4 separate regions of the Homo sapiens genome follow, and all the other regions are linked to region 1. The links are contacts of gene promoters, found by promoter capture Hi-C in blood cells and fetal thymus (Javierre and others, 2016). All regions are on one chromosome and are shown on one strand. Each heading gives the region's core, a stretch centred on a gene start or on the middle of the fragment in contact. The rest is flanking DNA. Distances are from core to core; before and after follow the strand shown.

What was found. The method cuts DNA at HindIII sites, captures the fragments that hold promoters and counts their contacts. A CHiCAGO score of 5 or more calls a contact.
Region 2: a fragment that was not itself captured here is called in contact with the fragment with the promoter of NAA20 in region 1 in 1 of 17 cell types (total CD8 T cells); the score reaches 6.0 in total CD8 T cells.
Region 3: a fragment that was not itself captured here is called in contact with the fragment with the promoter of NAA20 in region 1 in 3 of 17 cell types (naive CD8 T cells, fetal thymus and non-activated CD4 T cells); the score reaches 5.8 in naive CD8 T cells.
Region 4: a fragment that was not itself captured here is called in contact with the fragment with the promoter of NAA20 in region 1 in 1 of 17 cell types (total CD8 T cells); the score reaches 5.2 in total CD8 T cells.

Annotation. Positions count from the first base shown.
Region 1 is chr20:20,015,803-20,018,834 of GRCh38, reverse strand. It overlaps NAA20 (N-alpha-acetyltransferase 20, NatB catalytic subunit), which reads right to left and starts at 1,473. Exons shown (of 6, transcript NM_016100.5): 1 at 1,386-1,473. The coding sequence starts at 1,438. RefSeq lists enhancers at 1-210, 672-1,172, 1,787-1,966 and silencers at 1,227-1,346, 1,397-1,466. The HindIII fragment of the contact is 8,583 bases long and covers 1-3,032 here.
Region 2 is chr20:20,560,389-20,563,493 of GRCh38, reverse strand. All of the region lies in intron 23 of RALGAPA2 (Ral GTPase activating protein catalytic subunit alpha 2), which reads left to right. Among named protein-coding and RNA genes, the nearest start is that of RALGAPA2, 150 kb to the left of the region's middle. The HindIII fragment of the contact is 3,753 bases long and covers 1-3,105 here.
Region 3 is chr20:20,578,940-20,582,043 of GRCh38, reverse strand. The region is part of intron 20 of RALGAPA2 (Ral GTPase activating protein catalytic subunit alpha 2); the gene reads left to right. Among named protein-coding and RNA genes, the nearest start is that of RALGAPA2, 130 kb to the left of the region's middle. The HindIII fragment of the contact is 1,229 bases long and covers 711-1,939 here.
Region 4 is chr20:20,694,588-20,697,486 of GRCh38, reverse strand. All of the region lies in intron 1 of RALGAPA2 (Ral GTPase activating protein catalytic subunit alpha 2), which reads left to right. Among named protein-coding and RNA genes, the nearest start is that of RALGAPA2, 17 kb to the left of the region's middle. The HindIII fragment of the contact is 809 bases long and covers 1,120-1,928 here.

The DNA of each region.
Region 1 (3,032 bases), core at 224-2,723:
TTTACTCATACACAAAATGGGGGTGACAGCACCTCAAAGAATCGTGAGGATTAACTGGATTATTACGTGGGCACTCAGAACAATGCAGGGAACAGTGAGTTCAACACAAGTCACCGTAGCTACCAGACTGGCCCAACAGAAAATTCTTTCCACAGGATCAAGTCTAAACCCCTCCTGTTTCACCCATTTCTTCCTGACTGCTCAGTGGCAGAAACCAGCCACTAGATTCGCACTGATCCCAGTTGTCTGACCGCACTTCAAGTTTCCCCATTTTCATGCCCCGCTCCTTCTCCGGAACTTCCGTCTTCCTCACTTACCAATGTGTTATCCATCTTCAAGGCTCACCCCCTCTTTGAAATGTTCCCAGCCATCTTATCCCATAGTTCTTTCCATCTTCCTGACACTTGAATCGGAACCACTTTGTCCTTAGTTTTCACATACCGCCCTGTTGTTTTTTTAAAGTGGATCCAGGACTGATAGATGGGAAGGAAGGAGAGATACCAGCGTAGCAAAATGTTAACTGCAGAATCCAGGAAAAGTGTCTATAAAAGCACATGGTGAAATTCCTCCAACTTTTCTAAATGTGTGGGAATCTTCATAATAAAATGTTTTCTTAAAAAAAAAAAATTGGTACCTGCAAATCAGAGGTCTGGCCTTAACTCGAATCCAAAGAAACTGCATCCAGGGCTCTGGGCACAGCGAGCCTCCCCTAAGATCTGCCGTGACTCCTCACAGAGGAAAGGTGTGTACACCGGGGTGCGCAGCTACAGTAACTAAACTTGCAAACACTAACCATGACTGAGACAGCATCTGCTGCAGGGGACGCAGTGATCAGTGTCATTTCATTTGGATACAATTTAACCACGGCCACCAGGTGGGCTTCACGATGTACACATCCCAACAGCTGCTGACCAGCTTCCGATCCTCGCAAGCCCCCTCTGCGGCCTGGCCGTCGGCGGTGCCCTCTGCCCAGAAGAGGCGCGGCCCGGCCACGAACCAGCAAGCAGTAGGGCAGGGCGAGAAGCCCAGGTCGTGGGCTCCAGGCCGCGTCTCCAGCTCGCCCCATCACCCCAGCGCCTCCTGACAGCGACCACGAGCGGAGGCCCGAGCGCTGCCCCAGAACCTGCCAGCTCGCAGGGTCCAGAGACAAAGTTTGAGCACCTCGGCCAAGGTCGCCAAGGCCGGCGTGCGTCGACTCCAGGCCCACCTCTCCCTGGACCCTGTGGCCCCAGGGAGGCGCCCACGTTGGCCGGCGGGGGGTGGTTCTCGCGGGTCCCCGTCCGGGCTTGGGGTCCGGCCGGGAAGGCGCGGCTGGGGCCGGAGCTGGCGGGGCCGGGAAGCGAGGCCCGGCCAAGAGCGGCTGGCCCTAGGCGCGTGTCACTCACATGTTGTTGAAGCGGAACAGGTCGTCGCAGGTAAAGGCCCGTAGCGTGGTCATCGCGCCGCCGCCGCTTCCGAAGACCGTTCGCCAAGACCCCGCGCCCGCCCTGCCGGAAGTCTCCCGGAGCGTGGCCGCCGCGGAACCGAGCGAGACGGGGTACTGCTTCCGGGCTACGAGTTGCTGGGCAACGACAGCAGCAAAGCAGCTTCCTCTGGCGGCCGGCGGCGGGAATTGCCAGGTCGCTCCTGTAAGGCCTCCGGGGCTGTGGCTGCCCAGAACCTCGGAACCCCTCCCAGGCAGCGGCTGCAGAAAGCAGGCGGCGACACCTGGGAAGGAAAGAAGCTGCTGGTGATGCGGAAACCCAAGCAGAAGAGCGGAGTTCGCAGCCACCCGGTGCTGCAGAGTAAATGAGGAATGGGAGAATTTATGACCCAGAATCCCTTGTCCCAGTGTTGCGAGTTGCAGATGTCATCTTAAAATGTCAATACCACGTTTAAAAACAAAAAGAAGGCCGGGCGCGGTGGCTCACGCCTGTAATCCCAACACTGGGAGGCCAAGGCGGGCAGATCACTTGAGTTCAGCAGTTCGAGACCAACCTGGCCAACATGGCGAAACCCCCTCTCTACTAAAAAAAAAAAAAAAAGGAAAGAAATAAAAATTAGCTGGGCGTGGTGGCACGCGCCTCTAATCCCAGCTACTTGGAGGCTGAGGCAGGAGAATCGCTTGAACCCAGGAGGCGGAGGTTGCAGTGAGCCGAGATCTCGCCACTGCACTCCAGCCTGGGCGACAGAGCTAGACTTGGTCTCAAAAATAAATAATAAATAAATAAAAGCAAAACGAAATGTAAAATTGATTTTGATAGTACGCTTTATTTTACCCATTTATTTTTCCTATTTGGGAAAAATATTTTTCCCTGACCCCACTTTATTATACCCGAAATATCATTTCAACATGTAACCAATCAATACTCAACATGTAATCAATCAATAAAAAAAGGAATGTGATATGTTACATTCTTTTTTGCAAAGACTTTGAAATCCGGTGTGTATTTTACATTTGCAGTGCATTTCAATCTGAGAGAGCAGCTGTCATCGGAAATGCTTGTTCTCTATTTAGATTTCATCAATGTATGGTTAAAAAGCAGATTCTCATATCCAAGCGGTTCCAAATATACTGTTTTCAAATCGCTGAACCAAACATCAGTTTTTAAATTTAAAGTAGTTAAAATTAAAAGTTAAAAATTCCTTTATTCAGACCAGACACAGTGGCTCACACCTGTAATCCCAGCTACTTGGGAGGCTGAGGTGGGAGGATCATTTGAGCCCGGGAGGTAGAGGTTGCTCTGAGACATGATTGCACCACTGCACTCCAGCCTGGGTGACACACCAAGACCCTGTCTCAAAAAGATAAGATAAAGAGAGATAAAATACATAAAGCAAGCAGGAATGCTGAAATGTATTTACACATGAGTGTTAAACTGGTCAATATCCACAGAGCTGTAATCACTGTCTCTCCTGGGCACTGTATAACACTATGCATTTGTATTTTATGGACAAGAAAAATTTTCATTACTATCAATTTTCCTCAGCTTACAAATTTGTAAAATTTTGTATTGTCAAAGACAATAAAAAGCAGAGAAAACCTGGAAACG
Region 2 (3,105 bases), core at 64-2,563, 540 kb before region 1:
CATTTTCTCTGTACTTAAGAGAACATATTTTCTAATTCTGTTGGAATTCAAGCAGTTGGTATGCAAATTGTAAATGTATTTATAATTATTAAAATGGGACATCTAAAGGGCTCTGTAATTGATGTTTTTGTTAGCCAAGACATATATTTGTTACTAATTATTTCTGAAAGTAATGTAGCACTTAAAAACAAGTCCTTTTATTTTTCTAAAAATACAACTTCTGACCTGAATTTACTTTACTCAAGTTAATGAAATATTATTGAATATAAGGGGAGTTTACTGTAGCAATAAACAAAACTTCCAAGTTTGACTTAGGTTTGATTGAAGGATAATATTTATAAGGACAGGTGAGAGATGACAGTCCTCTCCTGACATGTATTGTTAAGTTAATCATAATTCCTGTTTGTGCTTATTGTACAAATTCAGAGTGATAAAATACAGAAGCTGTCATATAATTAACGTTACACCATCAGGTAGCATCCACTGCCTTCCGAGTGTTTTCCACAAGGTTTTGTGGGAATGGACAAGCCACAGATTCATCAAAATTTATCAATGAAAGTTTTATTATAACTTTATTCAGCTATCAATCGCCATAAAGACTTCAGATAGATGACTGCACCAAAAATAAATGCGAGATATTTTTTCTTTTTTTTATAGCTGTAGAATCAATAATTATTTTCATTAATCTGTAGACAGAGCCCACTTGTACCTCAATGAGGAAAGTAAAAATATGTAGGAGGTAACAGATGGCAGAGGTTTCGGTTATGAGGTTTAACACATGTGCAGTGAACTTGTTTCACAGCTTTAAAAAGTGTAAGATGATAGCATGGAGGCTGATCCAGAGAGAAGAAAATCTACCTGACAGGCCAGAAACTACAGTTTTGTTTGGTTTCCTTTGTTGGATTTAAAGGTGTAAAGACTTTCTTTCAAGTAAATGTTATCAGACATGAATATGAATTATGTATATTTAGCCCAAAATCTTCCGGTATCTAATAAGACATGCTACGTGAAATAAAGCATAAAAATAGTATAGCAACTCTCAGTATATGTGGGAAAAGGAAAGATTTTGTTCTTAGTAAACTGTTACCGTGTGATATCGTGTATCAGTTGGCATACATTTTTCAGTTGAGAACATGTTCTTTTGCTCTGAGGTTTCTCTCTGGAAGGAGACTCTACTGTGGCCTGTCACAGAGCCCAGATCACCGGAATCTTTTTTAATAGAGTCACTGGAGTGCATTCTGTCTTTTCCCAGAGAGGGTAGATGCTCAGTAGATATATTGATTGATAGAAAATGGAAGAAAAAAAAAAAGACCTTCTTCTGAGACTGGCTATTCCAAATCTACACAGCATCATGGGGAAGAATGGGTAACCAAAGCAGCTGAGCTGAGCCACTTTGGTTGCAATTTTGGCTCCAACTATCAGTTTCAAGGCAGGCATTAACTTTCTACTGTGGTGAGCTAGTCAACTTTCATTACCCTAGAACAGTGATTCTTGAGGGGCAGGGGAATTTTGCCCCCTCCAGGGAACATTTGGCAATGTCTGGACACACTTTTGGTTGTCATAAAGTGCACTGTCATTTGGTGGGTGAAAGCCAGGGATGTTGTTAAATATCCTGTAGTGCACAGAAACACAACAAAGAATTTATGACCAAAAATGTCAGTACTGCTGAGGTTGAGAAACCTTGCCCTAAAGGAGTACTTCTGCAGATGACATTGTCCTAAGAAAAGAGCTAGGTAATATAAATTAAATGACACAACTCAGTAATCAAAGACAGTATGAAAGTCTCACTCTGTTAGCTTAACCAAGGGAATAAATGCATACAAAAATTTAACCAGGGAGATTAAGAGAGTCAATGTTTCAGGTTGAGTTAAATGAGTTTTCAAAAAGGGGGTACAATTTCATAATGGTTCAGCTTACTAAATTCTCTGTCTAAAAAAATCAGTTTAAGAAATAAAACATGGAACGTTCTGATTAATTCTGAAGTTAACATGAAAATTATCTGAGATGAATTTTGTCTGGAAGCCCAAAGTAGAAAGTTGTGTGGCCTGCATCTGCAAAGCCCAAGGCACTGTATGTATGAAAGGAGGCAGGAAGGGGGCTCAGGTTCCACTTCTTGCATGAGCACTGCCTGAGTAGCTAAGAGGAAGCAGGATGGCTGAGAGAACAGCTTGCATGGAAAAGGGCTGGTGCATGGAGACAGATAATTGCCTTTTTCAAATGTCTGAAGCAGTGCTGTGTGAGAGAGACTGTTTTACCCAGAGCCAGGACTAATAGGTAGATTCTAGCTCATCATCAGGAGACACTAAATCCAGTTTTCTGTTCAAATATGGCAGGTGATAGGTTCTGTGTTTGTAAGCCTTTCAAGCTCTAAAGTATTCAGTCCAAGGCTGTCTGACGCTCTAGGACAGCCTCAGAAAAAGGGAACATTCACTTTAGAGCTTGAGCCCTACCTAGCCTTGCACTCAAGTCACTGCATCCATGAATTGGTGAACAGATACATAGCCTGTTTGGCTTGTGCTGCTTATTCCATGAAACGGGTTTCTGATGACTCTGGGACTTTGGGAAGGGAAAGATAGTTAGGCCTTCAGTAGGCAATGGTACATTTCATTGCAGAAGGGATTTTCCTGCTCTTTGGAATATAGCTATTGACCTGTAAGACCATCTTTTCTCATTTAGAGTTCTATGAAGACTTTAAGAAATGTTACATTTTTCTCCAGGCACAGAGGCACTGAGAGACACAGGAATAGCTTCTAGAGACATTTCAGGTACTAAAGTTATACTTGGGGAAGGAGGATACATTAACTCCCATTTGGAGAGGAATGATTTTTGAATATAAGAGATTTAAATCATGACTGTGGTTTATAATTCATAAAGAGTAGACTTGGATAGAAGGATATAATGTCAAGAAAAGCATTTTAAATTGCAATTTTTGTTTCCGTGAGAAAAGTGCTCTCCTTGTGGGGAATAATCTCTTTTTGTCTGTTGATTTCTTTTTAATACATAACAATAAGTGGTATTGTGGTAATTGCAGATTGTTCAGCTATTAATGCTATTTACTGAAACACATTTTAGAGAGAACATTGTTTTCTGAAGAAGCAATAAACA
Region 3 (3,104 bases), core at 76-2,575, 560 kb before region 1:
GTCAGGAGAGACTCGTGGTCTGAGGAATCAGTGCGGGAAAGGCTGACCAGAGCCAAGACTTTTATGGATGCACATTCATGTTCACACACAGGTATCTTGTATGAAAACAACCACCACAAAGTAACATGTTAAGAGTGTTATTAAAATGCCAAAAAATATTTTAAAATGATTAACATAAAGGCTAAAATTTGACCTTAAATGGATTTTTTTTTTTAAACCAAGCAAACTGGTTTTCACTGTGATTTAAAATTTAACTAACGTCTCTGATATTTGGGAAATTCTTGATAGAATGTCATTAAAACTTCATAAAATTAACATATGAAGGTGGTATTCAGTAAAATTCTTTATAGACTAAATAATGATTTTGACTAATAATACTATACATTGATATGAGATTCAACATTTACAAAGAATTTTGAGGCATTCTCTTTGATTCTGTATGGGAAGCAGGCCAAGTCTTATCATGTCTGTTTTAGAGATGGGGAGATTGAGACCCAGAGAAATTGTTATCAAGCTGGAGTGTGAGTTCCAGAGATGAAACTGGCTTCCAAAATGTTTTGACTCAACGTGCAGTGCTATGTCTACTCCTTTACACTGTGTTCCTGTTAAAATTAAAATTACTGTAAAGCCCTTTGACCTACTTGAGAATCCTTACAGATTATCCAAAAGAAAGTCATCATTGTGGTACTGTAGGAGGCAAAACTGAAGCTTCAGTAGGTTGAATTTACTTAAACATGGACTAGTTTTAATTATTTTTATTGAAAGGGAAGAAAATTAGGTGATTACTTCTTTTGTCTGTTCTTTGGAAAGATTAGTTTTGATCCCATTTCAGGGTATGTATTGGACAGCTCAATTTAATAAACCTCTGTGAGGTAATTTTATATGATGCACTCCATGTTGTGATTAACTCCTCCAAATACTCCGTTCTTCTTTGAAATACTAATATAGAGAATCAGTACACGCAGTTCAATAGTTCACCTTGTCATCTGTGAAAAGGACAAACTGTAATGTGATAAGGCTTAAGGATTATCACAGTTCTGAATTTAACTTTCTGTTCTTAAGAGAGCAATTTCTTCATAAATGTTCAAAATAAAACTCATATGAGCCTGATTTTTAGGACATGCAAAGAGAAACAATTTGATTATATCTTTGTTTCTTATTGAATAATCCTACCAGTTATCAAATGCTTAGAATAATAAACTGCCTCCAAAATCTTAAATTCCTTCATCACTGGCAAACTGTTTACTTTTATATTTGCTTTCTCATTAAATCATGTTTGCTGAAAATAACAGCTAAATTTACTGTGCATTGTCTTAAAGTTTACCTGGGATTTGTTTTAATCAGATGTGGTAAGACATACAGACATGGAAATGATTGTCATGGAGGAAGAAGTTTATACTCACGGATCCCTGGAAACAGGGGTCATGCAGGGAAGTACCAGGAGGCAGAAGGAACAAAATGGGGCAACCGCTTTTAGTGTCATTTCTATGGAAATAGCAAGGCAAGGCAGGGTATGCAGTTTTAGGATTACTAATATGAATGACTTCAGTGGGCTCTGGAGCATACGGGCTGTTTCTAGTTTCCTGGTACCCAGTCCTAGGATGACAGGGCAGGGGATATTGACTTAGTATGTGAGAACTAGAGAAAGGAGGTAGTTGGAGGGTCTGAATTTTGAATTGGTAGGTTTGCATGTGAAAGACATGCTGCCTGGTGAATAGACTTCTATCTCTAGGAATTAGCTAACCCTGGAAGTGGCAGTCCTTCCCTGATCAGTGAGGCCCTAATGCCAGAGCATTGAGAAGACAGAAAATAAGAAAATATACTTAAGACATGCATACATTTAGTTCTGTTGAAATAGTCAGGGGAGGGGGACATTTATGAGTCTACAGCTAAGAATCAGTATTGTCATTTACCTCATCCCTTATTTAACAAATAAGCTTATAGTCTAGAAATACTGATTTAGATGCTCTGAGAAATAAAAAGATGAATAAGTCATAAGCCACTATAGTTTTTAAGAGCTTATAAAAAGGACAGAAGACACAACATTTATCCTAATAGTCACAAATAATGTGATAAATTCTATGACATTTACTTAAAGTTGTAATCATAGAGATAGACAAATAGACGGATGGAACAGAAGATAAAATATAGCACTGAGTGCACACAGACATGGAATCATGATATATGATATATGTGGCTTGTCAGGTCTGACAAGGAAACAATGTATTGTTCAACACATTTCTGTGGGACAAGTACTTAGCCATATGGAAAAAAATGAAATAGAATTCCTACCTCACGCCATGTCCAAAGTCAGTTTCAGAGGGATAAAGTACATAAATGTGAAAAGGAAAATTTAAAAACTTTTGGAAGAAAACGTCTTTTTTAAAAGGTTCTATGATTTTTTTTAAAAAATAGCTAACCATAAAAAAAGTGTCAGTAATTCAACCTCAGCAAAATGAAAACTGCATTACCAGAGAAACTTTTAAGAATTCTGTGGTTTAGCAGAACCACAAAGGGAAAAAGCCAGCTTTGTTGCTCTTTTCTTTCCATGTTCTTGTTAGCTCAGTGATAACTTTTAAAGTAAGGTTTGGTGAGAAATGTTATCTAGCATCTTGGTTTAGTTGGGAGATTCCAAGGTCTTTCTCTACTGGAATGCAGACTCCAGGAGGGGGACGCCTGTTGTCTGCTATGTGCACAGCTGATTCTTGCTTCCGAGAATATTGCAGGACAGGAGAGAAGCATTTAATAAATACTTGAATCAGCGAACAAATACACTTTAAGCTGCAAGCTGTTGTTTTATATAGCTGAAAAGAGCAATTAAATTTTAATTTTTTAGAAATAATACATAAGACAATTTCAAAATCTCTTTTATTTAGTGTGGTTATCACAGTCTTGCATCCAAATGTTACAGAAATTTTTTTGCCACTTCTGCTTTTAATTATGGCTGTGAATATGAATTACAGCTCCTGTTACCTGCCACTAAAATTGTTTTTCCAAGAATGCTTTGTCAGCATTCTCTGTCATCGCCTATATTTTTGGCATTTCCACCAGACTTTGATGTGTTTCGAAGTCATGAAATATTAGAAAGAAAAATAATAATGATA
Region 4 (2,899 bases), core at 275-2,774, 680 kb before region 1:
ACGCCCATTTGTACCACATGACATTCATTGACTTTTGTGCTAATAATCATAAAACATTGAGCAAACCTTAGATGACATTCTGTAAATTCTATTTAAGATTATGGGAGTCATATTTGAGGATTATTTTTCTATTTTTTTAATTAAAAAATTTTTTTTGAGATGGAGGTCTCACTCTGTCACCCAGGCTGGAGTGCAGTGGTGTGATCACAGCTCACTGCAGCCTTGCTCTCCCAGGCTCAAGTGAGAGGATTATTTTTCTAGTTTGATGGAAGTAAAGCGTTGCCCTTTTAACAAATGGGATTGACCACTCTTTAAGTCTACATAGCTTAGACTGTTTCCACTGTTTTTAAAGTCATTCCACATATAGTGACTGAGTGTCTGCTATTTGCAGATGAAGCCCTAGCACTTATGGGACTTTCATTCTATTAGGGTGGATGGACAATAAATAACAGGCTGGGTGCAGTGGCTCATGCCTGTAATCCTAGTACTTTGTGAGGCCCAGGCAGGTGGATTGCTTGAGGCCAGGAGTTCAAGACCAACCTGGCCAACACAGTGAGACCCCATCTCTAAAAATCAAGAACAAAAAAACCAAATAATAAATATATGATACAATTTCAGGTAATGATGATAGAAAAATTAAGCTTGATAAGGGTATGTGTATGCTTATTTAGATATTGGGGTGAGGGAAGGCCTCTCTGAAGGGAGGTTTGGACTGAGACCTGGGTTAAGCAAGGGAGCAGCTTTGTGATTATTTTTGGGGAATAGTGTTCTAAGCAGAAGGAACAGTAAGTACCAGGATCTGAGTCATAAATAGACTGGAAATCTCATGGAAGTCAATAGGGGTGGAGGGGTGGAGGATAGAAGGAACTGGGAAAGGAGCGGGGGTGGGAGAGGGGAAATAGGGATAAGATGGTGTGGAACTTTGGCATCCCAGTAAGGACTTGGGATGTTACTCTAAGTAAGATAAGATGGGGCACTCCAGTGAAGCAAAGAGCAGAGGAGTGATCTGAACTGACCTTTAGGTGTAAAGGAATCAATGTGGTTCCCTCATAGAGACTACACTTGCTTGGTTAGCTTGCCAGAGATAGGTTTTCTGACCACAAGCTTTGTAACAAAGCTTTCTTTGGCTTACTTTATAAAAGGTCAGATCTTTGGCCCAAAAACCGACCAGTGACTGGAGGCAGACAAGAGAAGAGGGAAGAGAGAGAAAGAAGTGCCAGAGAAGAGGAATGAGTGGCTGTGGAATCTGTAGCAAGCAAAGGTGTTAAGGAAGATGGGGACAGGCAGCCTGTGTCCCTCCTTACTGCAGCAGCGAGTAGTGATGAGAAGACAGGACGGAAACACTTTGTGGCCAGTGGGACAGGAAAGCTGGAGTACATTGGGCCATGTAATGGGCCCACACAGCGGCCTGAGCTTGTAACAATATGGAGACGGGCTTGCTGTTATCCCCAAATCTACTGACAGGCAGAGAGCAGGCATATTAAAAAGTGCCCTTGATGCTGACAAAAAAAAAATGGAGATCTGTCAGTGGCTGGAGAAGAATGAGACCAGAAAAATGTTGATGGGTCAGTACAACAACAATTTAATATGAATGGTTGCAAAGGCAGCAAACACTGCAGATTGGCTCCACATCAGATATCCACCCAAATTAGGACCCCAGTTGTGCTTTATGTTGGTCTTTTCTCAATGGAAAGACCTGAGGGAATCTTAATCTTTGGCTCAGTGTTAATTGCAAAGATGTAATTCTATGAACCAGTGTTGCTAACTGAACCTTATGTCTTACTCAGAAAGGTGGCTGTGGTGTTTCAAAATATGACAGTATTAGGTTAGCTACATACAGGAGGACAATCATTTGTATTCTTCCAGAGACATCATTTCTGAGCATAAACCAGGTCTTTAGCACTTTTATAGTGTGCTATGAAGAAGCTTCTGTTCTGTCAGTTGACAGTCAGTCAGCGTCAGGTTTAAGCACAACAAGGAAAGGTTGACTCATATGGACTAAGGCTCCCAGGTCTTGGGAATGGGTCTCATTGTGACTGGAAATTTCATCACATCTTTGCATTCAAAAGTGTCAAACATTTGCTCATGCCTACTCAGTGCTAGCTGCTGAATGGCTGGACAGAGAAATGTCTTTCTGCCCAGTTCTATTATTTTTTATCCTTTTCAGTGAATGATGTCTAGAGAAACACAAAAACAGCAAAGCTTCTCCAGATAACTAGGTCATTCTAAGGCATTATGTACCATGTATGTGCTGTTACAGAAGGAGTAATTTAAAAGTTGGATAGAGAAAATTTAAGTCATTTGCTGTTTTTTACAACATTTTAGAATTGGTAAAGATACTCTTTTATATATTGTTTGGGTCTTAAGATTTCTTCAAAGTTGAAAAGTAAGACAGGTTTGGAAAAAAGTATGGCCTGGTGTCATGATTGATGAGTTTTTTGCAGTAAATATTCAGGCTTTGAAAAAAATCCCTTTCTCGAACGCCCTGGAAGTACCCCCCAAAACAGCTTTATAGCTTTTTCTGGTTCTACAATTTTACATACTCATTATAAACATTTGGATAATATGAATATATGAAAAATAATTTAGGTATCAAGGGGTTCTCAAATTCTGCAGTCCCCTGCCAAGCATTACTGAAATCCCGGTGAACGTGCTTTCCAGGCTGGCTCTTGCTTGGGTGCATTCCTTTCTCTCTCTCTTCCCTGCACCTGCCTCGCTTACACACACAAACACGGTTTTACATGAATAGTCATCTGCATGGTCTAACACTGTGTTTTTGACTTAAAGCCTTGGATATTTTTCCACATCAGTAAGTGAAGAATTACATAAGACTTCAATGGCTGTAGTGTGTTCCACTGGACTCCTATAACAAAATTCCCTATCACCCATCCTTCAGGTC